Linked DNA regions of Homo sapiens: region 2 is linked to region 1. The links are contacts of gene promoters, found by promoter capture Hi-C in blood cells and fetal thymus (Javierre and others, 2016). All regions are on one chromosome and are shown on one strand. The core of a region is centred on a gene start or on the middle of the fragment in contact, and the rest is flanking DNA. Distances in the headings are between cores, read along the strand shown. Region 1 holds the start of LAMTOR5 (late endosomal/lysosomal adaptor, MAPK and MTOR activator 5). Region 2 holds the start of CD53 (CD53 molecule).

Region 1 (4,705 bases), core at 288-2,787:
GCATTGTAATAGCTAAAACAAAAAACAAACAAAAGCAAAAAAAAAAAAAAAAGTCCAAGTACAGTGGCTCACCTGCAATCTCAGCGCTTTGGGAAGCCAACGAGGGAGGGTCACTTGAGACTGGGCTACACACTGAGACTCCATCTCTACAATTTTTTTTTTAATTAGCTAGGTGGGGTGGCGGGTCCCTGTAGTCCCAGCTTCTTGGGAGGCTGAGGTGGGAAGATCGCTTGAACCTAGAAGGCTGAGGCTGGACTAAGCCATGATAGTGCCACTGCACTCCAACCTTAATCCACAATTAAGATACAGCTATAAAATGGAATATTTTGCAACTACTACAAAGGATGTAAGTGAAAACTTGACATGGAAAGACATTTATTCTAAACTCTGTAAAGAAGGCCAGCTACAGAATTGTACCTCCAGTATGTATGTCAATTTTGCTTACAAAACAAACAAAACAAAAAAAACCATGCTAGGCGTGGTGACTCAGCCTGTAATCACATTTTGGGAGGCTGGAGTGGGAGGATCTGTTGAAGCAAGGAGTTTAAGACCAGCCTGGACAACACAGCGAGACCCCCATCTCTACAAAAAAACGTAAAAATTAGCCAGACATGATGGCTCGAGGCTGTGGTCCTAGCCAGTCGAGAGGCTGAGAGGTGAGGATAGCTTGAACCCAGGACGTCCGGGTTGCAATGAGCTATAATCGTTCTACTGCACTACAGCCTGGGTAACAGAGCAAGACCCTGTCCCCCAAAAAATTTATTTTAAAAAGGCAAACGAAAAAACATTAAAAGTATACATTTACAAAGACAACTATCTGAAAGGATATTCTCCAAGAAGTTAAAAGTCGTCTTTGGACAGTGGGGCCATAGATGTTTTCCTATTTTTACCAGCTTTATAATTAATTTTTAAAAGTTATTTTCAAGTAGTCCTACCCAGTCTTCCTTACGAGTTAGGACTCAAATGCCACTCTCTTCCCCTAAACTGTCCTGAGTCCCCTCACCATAATAAGCACCAATGTCTTCGTTAAAATCCCGACACTGCCAACACTCAGCTAGGGGGTTGAACCTTGCTCCATCTCGTCCTTTAGTCTCTGTGTGCGTCTTTCCCCCTACAAGCCTACTGACCCCCTCCAAGAGGTCCCGTGTCTTCCCCGTACTTGCCCCACAGGCTAGATCAGACCCTGTCTGACCCCTGGGTTATTGTAAAACTTAAGATCTGTCCCCTAGGTCTCGGAGTCGGTTGAACTAGGGTCCAAAGGTTAAAAAACACTGACACAAAATGCCAGGCCACGAACTGAAGCACTGAGGCCCGGCTGCAGACCTCTCCCGAGAGGGGAATAATCCGTGCCGGCCGGTTCCGCCATGGAGCCAGGTGCAGGTCACCTCGACGGTCACCGCGCGGGGAGCCCAAGCCTTCGTCAGGCTCTGTGCGACGGAAGCGCAGTGATGTTTTCCAGTAAAGAACGCGGACGTTGCACCGTGATCAATTTTGTCCCTTTGGAGGCGCCGTTACGGTCCACGCCCCGCTCGCGTCAAGTGACTGAGGCCTGTGGTGGAGAAGGACGTGCCGTGCCGCTGGGTTCTGAGCCGGAGTGGTCGGTGGGTGGGATGGAGGCGACCTTGGAGCAGCACTTGGAAGACACGTGAGTAGTGCGCGCCTCTTCGGCCTGTCCTGAGGTCGCGGCGGAGGAACTTGAGCGGAACGAAAGGCGCGAGCTGCGAGTACCGGCCAGGGCGTCTCGGGGACGTCGCGCGACCCCCGGGACACGGGATGAGGGGGCTAAACTCTACCCAAGGCCGCAGGGCGGGGCGGGTGACCCGGAATTAAAATCCTGCCGGGCACCGCACATTCCCTCTTGAGCGAGTCTCCCGGGCCCAGGCCACGGGCCAAAACTGCCTATCTCGTTGTTGAAATCGTCTTTACGGTCAGGGTGGTTCTGCGGAAGTTTTAGAAAACGGGTTGACTTTTGGGAAGATTGTGCCAGTTGTGCAGTGTCGAGCCCTGCAGTGTAAACAAACACGTATCTCCTGTGTGTAACCTATCAGTTACTTGGTGCTTAAGTAGATAAAAATCATTCTTTAAATTTTTCGAACAAGCAGTATCTATGTAAAATTCAAAACTGGAAAAGTGTAAAGGGTACAGAGAGACACCTGCCTCCCACCGATGTCCCTCAGCTTCCACTTACCCTCCAGGAGGTAACTTGAGTTTTTCAACAGTTGTTTTAAATGAGTTAGTACTAAAACATGCGTTTTTAACAAGAGTGAAAACATCCTAGATGTTTTTCACGCAGTGTTTGTGGCCCTCCAGAACTCAGCAGTACTTAGCACATTTTTTTCTCTCATCAGAGAGAAACTGGTTTATTTCAATTAATTAACTAGAACTTAAATTTTTTGTGTTCTTTTTTTGAGACGGAATTTCGCTCGTCTTCCAGGCTGGAGTGCAATGGCGTGATCTCGGCTCACTGCAACCTCCGCCTCCCAGGTTCAAGCGATTCTCTTGCCTCAGCCTCCCGAGTAGCTGGGATTACAGTCATGCGCCACCACGCCTGGCTAATTTTGTATTTTTAGTAGAGACGGGGTTTCTCCATGTTGGTCAGGCTGGTCTTGAACTCCCGACCTCAGGTGATCCGCCCACCTGGGCCTCCCAAAGTGCTGGGATTACAGGCGTGAGCAACCGCGCCCGGCCCTAGAACTTAATTTTTTTCTTAGGGTGTGACAATGAAAAAAGATTGAGAAATATTGATTTAAAGCACTTAATGCCTGGTACATAGAACACCTGTATGTTTGTACTTATTTAAATCCTTTTTCTCCCATTATGTACTTCAACTCTCTTGTGTTCCTGGAATTAGAATGAAGAATCCCTCCATTGTTGGAGTCCTGTGCACAGATTCACAAGGACTTAATCTGGGTTGTAAGTATCTCTCATACCAACTATTTGATGAATTGCATAGCATCTGATGTTGACTTGGAGCCTAGCGTGCTATTATTTTCTAGCTTTTATTTCCTGTTACCTTGCCAGGTCTTTCTGAGTTTGAGAGTAGAGATTATCTCCAAATAACAGTATCAGAAAATTGAAACTTTTCAGTTGGTATTTATGAAGGAAGATGTTCCTTGCAGTCCTATAACAATAAATAGTTGTCTCTACTAAAAATAATATTTGAATCATTTTAAATTGAGTCTAGAAAGGACTTCAGATAATAACAGCTGTTAACCATTTATTGAATGTATGCCATATGCTGAGACTGCTAGGCTCTAAATACATTATCTTTAATTTTCACAACAACCCGGCAAGGTGGGTGGTGTACAATTTTGAAGCTCAACTACACTAAACAAGAAGTGAATAGGCAGTAAAATGGGATTTCAGTGTTGGACATACCTGGTCTCAATCCCTTGCTCTTTCATTTGTTAGTAGTGTGAACGTGGACCAAAAAACTACCTTTTAGGCCCTCATTTTCTTCACTGGGTTGTTATTTGATAATGGTAATAATCATAGAATTATATTTATTGAGCTGTTATGTGCCAAGCACCATTGTAAGTGCTTTACATATACTCTTTTATTCCTCATAACAACCCAGTGAGGTAGAAAAAGAAATTGAGGGACCAGGTGCAGTGTCTCACGCCTGTAATCCCAGCACTTTGGGAGACCAAGGTGGGCAGATCACTTGAGCCCAGGAGTTCAAGACCAGCCTGTGCAACACAGTGAGACCCCCCATCTCTATTTTTACAATAAACATATATATATGTTTTTAAAATTTAAAAAAAGAGGCCGGATGCGGTGGCTCACACCTGTGATCCCAGCACTTTGGGAGGCGGAGGCGGGTGGATCACCTGAGGTCAGGAGTTCGAGACTAGCCTGGCCAACATGGTGAAACCACATCTCTACTAAAAATGCAAAAAAAAATTAGCCAGGCATGGTAGCAGGTGCTAGTAATCCCAGCTACTCGGGAGGCTGAGGCAGGAGAATCGCTTGAACCTGGGAGGCAGAGGTTGCAGTAAGCCGAGATTGCACCATTGCACTCCAGCCTGGATGACAAGAGCGAGACTCTGTCTCAAAAAATAAAAAAAGAAACTGAGACACAGAGGTTAAATAACTTGCCTGAGGTCATGCAGCTAGTAAGTCGTTAAGCTAGGATTTTTGTCTGGCCCTGAGGCCTCTTAATCACTTTTTTTTTTTTTTTTTTGAGACGAAATCTTGCTCTGTCGCCCAGGCTAGAGTGCAGTGGCACGATCTTGGCTCACTGCAACCTCCATTTCCCAGGTTCAGGCAATTCTCCTGCCTCAGCCTCCTGAGTAGCTGGGATTACAGGCGCCTGCCACCACGCCCAGATAATTTTTGTATTTTTAGTAGATACAGGGTTTCACTATGTTGGCCAGGCTGGTCTCGAACTCCTTATCTCAGGTGATCCACCCACCTCCGCCTCCCAAAGTGCGGGATTACAGGAATGAGCCACTACACCCGGCCTAATCACGATATTTTAAGGTTATATAATATGTATAAAATGCTTACATAGAACTGAGACATAATACTTAATAAATGGTAGCAATTACACATGAGGAAATAAGTTTGGAAAGGTAAATAAGTAAAGCATTCAGTTAATTAGTGACAACTAGTAAACCCAAGACTTGTTGCTCCTAATGCAGGAATGTTTAAAGCTCTGAATTTTTGCTGGAAGGGTAACTGAAAGAGGTAATCGGTGTAACTC
Region 2 (4,615 bases), core at 1,174-3,673, 470 kb before region 1:
CTAATCTAGGGACGCAGAACAAACCACTATAACTGAATCAATGCAGTACTTCCTGGAACAGAAGCTAAGCTGAAAACAATGGCTGTAACCTCACAAGAAGCTCCACCCTTCCTTCTGCTCTAAGTGAAAATCTAGGTTGAGGAGGCAAAAACCTGCCTCTTCTCCCTCATTTCAAACCCACATCCCATCAATTCTGTCGTGTGAACATGGTGGGCATAGCCCCACCCAGAGCTGGACCTAGGACCTGCCTGGTGAGCGATCTTGCCCTCCACTTTCTGGTGCCAAGTAGGAGAAAGGGCTTTCCACTTCATGTGGCTCTGTAAACATGGTGTGTTACACTGCAGTCTCACTTGCTTTCTCTCATTTCTAACATGCCTGGAGGTACACACTTCTTTGAATTTGAATATACAGCACCCTTGGTCTAGAATGTCTCCATAGCAAACCCATACTTCTGTGAAAGTGAACCCACCAGTCACCTCTCTAGGCAGTTTTTGGCACACTCCTAACTCCTACAGTTTGTGCACGTTCTCCATCTATTATAGAAAAGAGCACATTGCACTGTATTTGTATATTGCTGTGACTGTCATCCATAATAAACTCTACAACTCCTTTCAGATGATAATCTTTTCTGTTATCCTGTATCTCCAGCACCAAGTGCCATATCTGGCCATGGGGTAGGAGTGGGAAAGGAGAACCAGAGTCCGAGGGCCTCTGTGCAGTCAGAGGTCAATCAGAGGGCACAAAAAACCAAGGACCAACAGACTTTGTCCTTTCCAGTTTGTGCCTCTTGTCAGTGAACAAAGGTGAGGTCACTTAGGTGGTGGTAACCATAGCTGTGAAGGCATGAACTTGGAATCATTCCTCATGAATATAAAGGTACCCAATCCTTTCATTTAAAAATTAAGTGTTCTTAACTGGCCCACACAGGAAACATCACAGGAAATAATGTTTCAGTTCAGTCTTTGCTCCCATTCAACCACAATTTCAAAATAGTACAGATTCTCCTCAAGATTGAGAAAGCAAAACCTCTTTGTTTGTCCAGCAGCTGGGAGTTTGCTTTTTCTCAGCTTTCTTCCAAAGCACACGCATAGTATGATATCTCTTATCTCCCATGGGAGTTCCTTAAGAGTAGGACTGTTTGCTAGACAAATATTCTCCTTCTACCTTTTCATCTCCCTCCCCCACAATTCCCAAAGCACAGTGCCTGGCCTCAGGAGGCACCTACCACTTGATTATTAAGTGAATTTATTTAAAAGACTGCTTTTTATTTTTTAATACAAGGCTCAATAAACTCTGAGGTGTTTTGGGAATCCAGAGCCCTCTCCCCGTCCCCACCCCTCTTGGAAATCTAGAGCCCTCTGCCCTGTTCCCAATCCTCATACTTAGATGGGTGGGTGTAATCAAAGAGAACTTTCTCCTTTCTGCTCCAGGGCATAATCAAGTGAAATTCTCACAGGTCTTGGAAGAAGAAAGCTCTTACATAGAGTTTCCGATGGTGGTCACAGAGAGTCAGGACCGAAGCTCTGCTAACACTTTGCTGAGTCCATGCAACCTCAGTCATTAGTTACAGCACATGATTGGAAATTACTGCAGTATCAAGTTTTGGGGATTGCATTTTATACGTGCATTTCATGTGACATTTATCAGTGGTCATGTTTTGTACACCAAGGATAATTTGGGGAAATGCTGAGGATCCCAATGTGCTTCCTGCTCCTTAAAAGCCAACAATCTATGCATCCTTTAGAGATGTCTAGCTTTCACCTTTTAAAATACAGTTACTGAGCACATCCTGGTGTTTTGATTTTTAGCCACCTTTCTATTTAGTGGCTTTGAAGAACCACAGTGGGAGTCACTAAATTTACTTTTGAAATTTTCTCAAATGAAAAAGAACTGTGTCTTCTAGCTGTCTTTCTAAAGACAGCTCTGGCTGTGGGTTCTTTCCTCACTTTAAAATCACAAGACCAATTTTCTGAAGACCAGAGCACATAGGAAATCTCCCCAATGTCATCTCGCATAGAAAGCTCCAGGCATCAGGAATTACTACACAGAGTAATTCAAGCTCTGAAGCAATTAAGGCATGTGAATGCCTCGACTCAGAGATTTAGATAATGGGAACCTGATTAAGTAAAAGTATTTCTGGCCTGATTGCCTTTGGGGATGTTACTAGGATCTTGCTAATCTGTTTTACTTTGTGCACTAAATATTTGTGAAAGAGAAGTTGCCGGAGATTTTATGGTTACTAGAGAGGTATATGGAGACCCCTAAGAATACGCCCTACCCCACATTAGACAGCAAGCCAAGTTAAAACGTCATCAACCTTACCTTTTCCAGGCACCGTTCCTCAGTCCTTTCGGCAGAATTTAGTGATTATCCTTGAGGTGGCCGAGACAAGGCTGGTAACACAGATATCCGGGGCTATTTGTGTAAAAGGAGAAGTGAAGGGTGAAAAAATATGATCATGCTGTGACGACAGGAAGCCCAGATGAGAAGAAGGAGGAAGTGAGGCTGAGTCCGCCCTCTTTAGTCTCAGAGATTTAGTACTTTCCCAGTGGCTTTTTAGAAGCTTCCTCTCACAGCCCACCCTAAACTAGTTTTGTGAAACAAAAGAAAACTTCAAAACCAAGTTGGTTCAGGCACAGATCTGTGAGCAGTGGTGGATTCTAGGGTAATTTGGCAATGATTTTTGCTTAGAAAAGGACAGTGCTTCTCAATCAAGGTGGCATCTCAGAATTAACTGTGTATTTGTTCAAAAAGAAGTATGCCTGGCCCCACCACCAGTTTCCCATTCAGGTAGACAGACTGGAGGGGAACACAGGAACCAATATTTCTAAACATTTTCTAGGCCCGAGACTTTGGAATGTCTTTCTGAAGATTCTCTGCCCCCTCCTCATACTCCCTCTGTCTGGCTTCAGCCAGTCTCTAGACTTGAATTGGACACCATTTGCAGACTTCTCTGTCTCGAGAGCAAGACTGTCTTAAGGTGAGTCCCCAAGGCATAATCCCAGGGGCACTGGTAGAAATGATTTGGTTAGTACAGGAAACACCACATTTGGAGCCAAAGATCTGAGTTTCAGTTCCAGCTTTATCTCTTTTAGCTGTGAGATCTTGAGCAAGTCTCAATCTGTCAGCCTCAGTTTATTAATGGTAACACCTAATAATAATCCTACTGGTTACTGTTACATCCTTATTTATATACAAGAAAACAGGCGCTCAAAGAGGTTAGAAAATTTGCCCAAGCTCATACAACTAAGACATGTCAGAGGTAGGATTAAAATTCAAGGTCACAGAGAAGGCCTTTTGAGAAACACTGTGATCAATATATTTTGAAAAATGTGTTTCTGGTTTCACTATGCTGCATCACTGGAATTTTCTTAGATTGGGTCAAAGGAGTATGTGACAACCCAAATGTATCACTAGCTAACTATGAAACTTGGAAGCAATCACTGGGCCCCAATGTTTTCATCTTATAAATGAACAGATAGATGCACTCTGCGGTGCTGACTTGCGGGCATGCCTCTGGGAAAGCTAGCTGTCTCCCGCTTCCTTCACCCTGAGACATTCAGATCCAGAGTAATCTCCAGCCAGGGCTGTCTTGTGGGGAAAACTGAATTAAATGAAGGTAAAAAGGTCTTTACTGCAGAACTTGTCAGTCCTTAATATTCTCTAAGCAGGGGAAATAATATATAGATTTCTCCAAACTTATCTGAGCATGGAACTGTGTGGTGTGTGTGTGTGTGTGTGTGTGTGTGTGTGTGTAGTTTCTCTTGGGGAACAATTTTTCAGTGTAACTACACTTTAGGGAATGCTATTAAAAAGTCTCTGCACCTCGGCTGGAATCACTGACCCTCACTCAGAGCTGCTGCCATGCTTACAGGTCCCTGAAGTGGTGGGGCTGAGGAGAGGCTTCTGGCTGAACTCATATTTTCCTAATTATCTCACCCATTCTGATGGCTCTAATTACTATCTGTCTGTTCCAAAGATTCACAAATCTATATAGATGCCATGATCTCTCCTTTGAGCTCCACTCTCTCCCAGGCACCTCAAATCCAATATCCAACTTCAGTTTGATTAACTTGGCATCCCCACACTCAAGCCTGCTCCTCCCACCATGTCCACCATCCAGGAAAGGCCTGACTGGCCTTTCAGCCACGTTCATGAGAAACCAGGTGTCCTCTTAAGCTACTCTCTCTCCCACACCACCACCTATTATCAGCCACCAAGTCCTGTCAGTTATGCTTTTGCCTAAATATTTCTCAAACCAGACCACCTCTCTCCAACCCCATAGAAATTACATTAGTCTTTATCTTTTACCTGTGTTACAGGATCCCAGTGTCCTTCAAGACCACCTTGGATGTTTCTTCAGTCTGTCCTCAGGAAGAAGGGAGGAGAGCCTTCTAAAATGCAAATTTAATCACATGACTCCCCAGCTTAAAACTCTCAGCCGGCTATTTCTTCCCCGGCCCCACCCCCAAGATCTCCTCACACTGGGTAACACTGGATATGGAATTCCTTTTAGTTGCTTAAACAAATCAATCTAGTTCTGTCTCACGAGCTCTCTCTAGAATATCCTCTCACCTGTTCACTTAATTCCTTACTCATCCCCCATCATAGCACC

What was found. Contacts are between HindIII fragments. The CHiCAGO score rates a contact against its expected background, and 5 or more counts as called.
Region 2: the fragment with the promoter of CD53 here is called in contact with the fragment with the promoter of LAMTOR5 in region 1 in 10 of 17 cell types (monocytes, M1 macrophages, total B cells and 7 more); the score reaches 10.7 in monocytes.

Annotation. Positions count from the first base shown.
Region 1 is chr1:110,404,526-110,409,230 of GRCh38, reverse strand. LAMTOR5 (late endosomal/lysosomal adaptor, MAPK and MTOR activator 5) reads left to right here and starts at 1,537. Exons shown (of 4, transcript NM_001382293.1): 1 at 1,537-1,645; 2 at 2,852-2,913. The coding sequence starts at 1,611. It overlaps LAMTOR5-AS1 (LAMTOR5 and SLC16A4 antisense RNA 1), which reads right to left and starts at 1,422. Exons shown (of 3, transcript NR_102697.1): 1 at 1,277-1,422. RefSeq lists an enhancer at 1,366-1,595. The HindIII fragment of the contact is 8,453 bases long and covers 1-4,705 here.
Region 2 is chr1:110,870,956-110,875,570 of GRCh38, reverse strand. CD53 (CD53 molecule) reads right to left here and starts at 2,423. Exons shown (of 8, transcript NM_000560.4): 1 at 2,323-2,423. It also overlaps a transcript of LRIF1 not described here. RefSeq lists enhancers at 901-950, 2,463-2,572, 3,173-3,222. The HindIII fragment of the contact is 4,495 bases long and covers 1-2,565 here.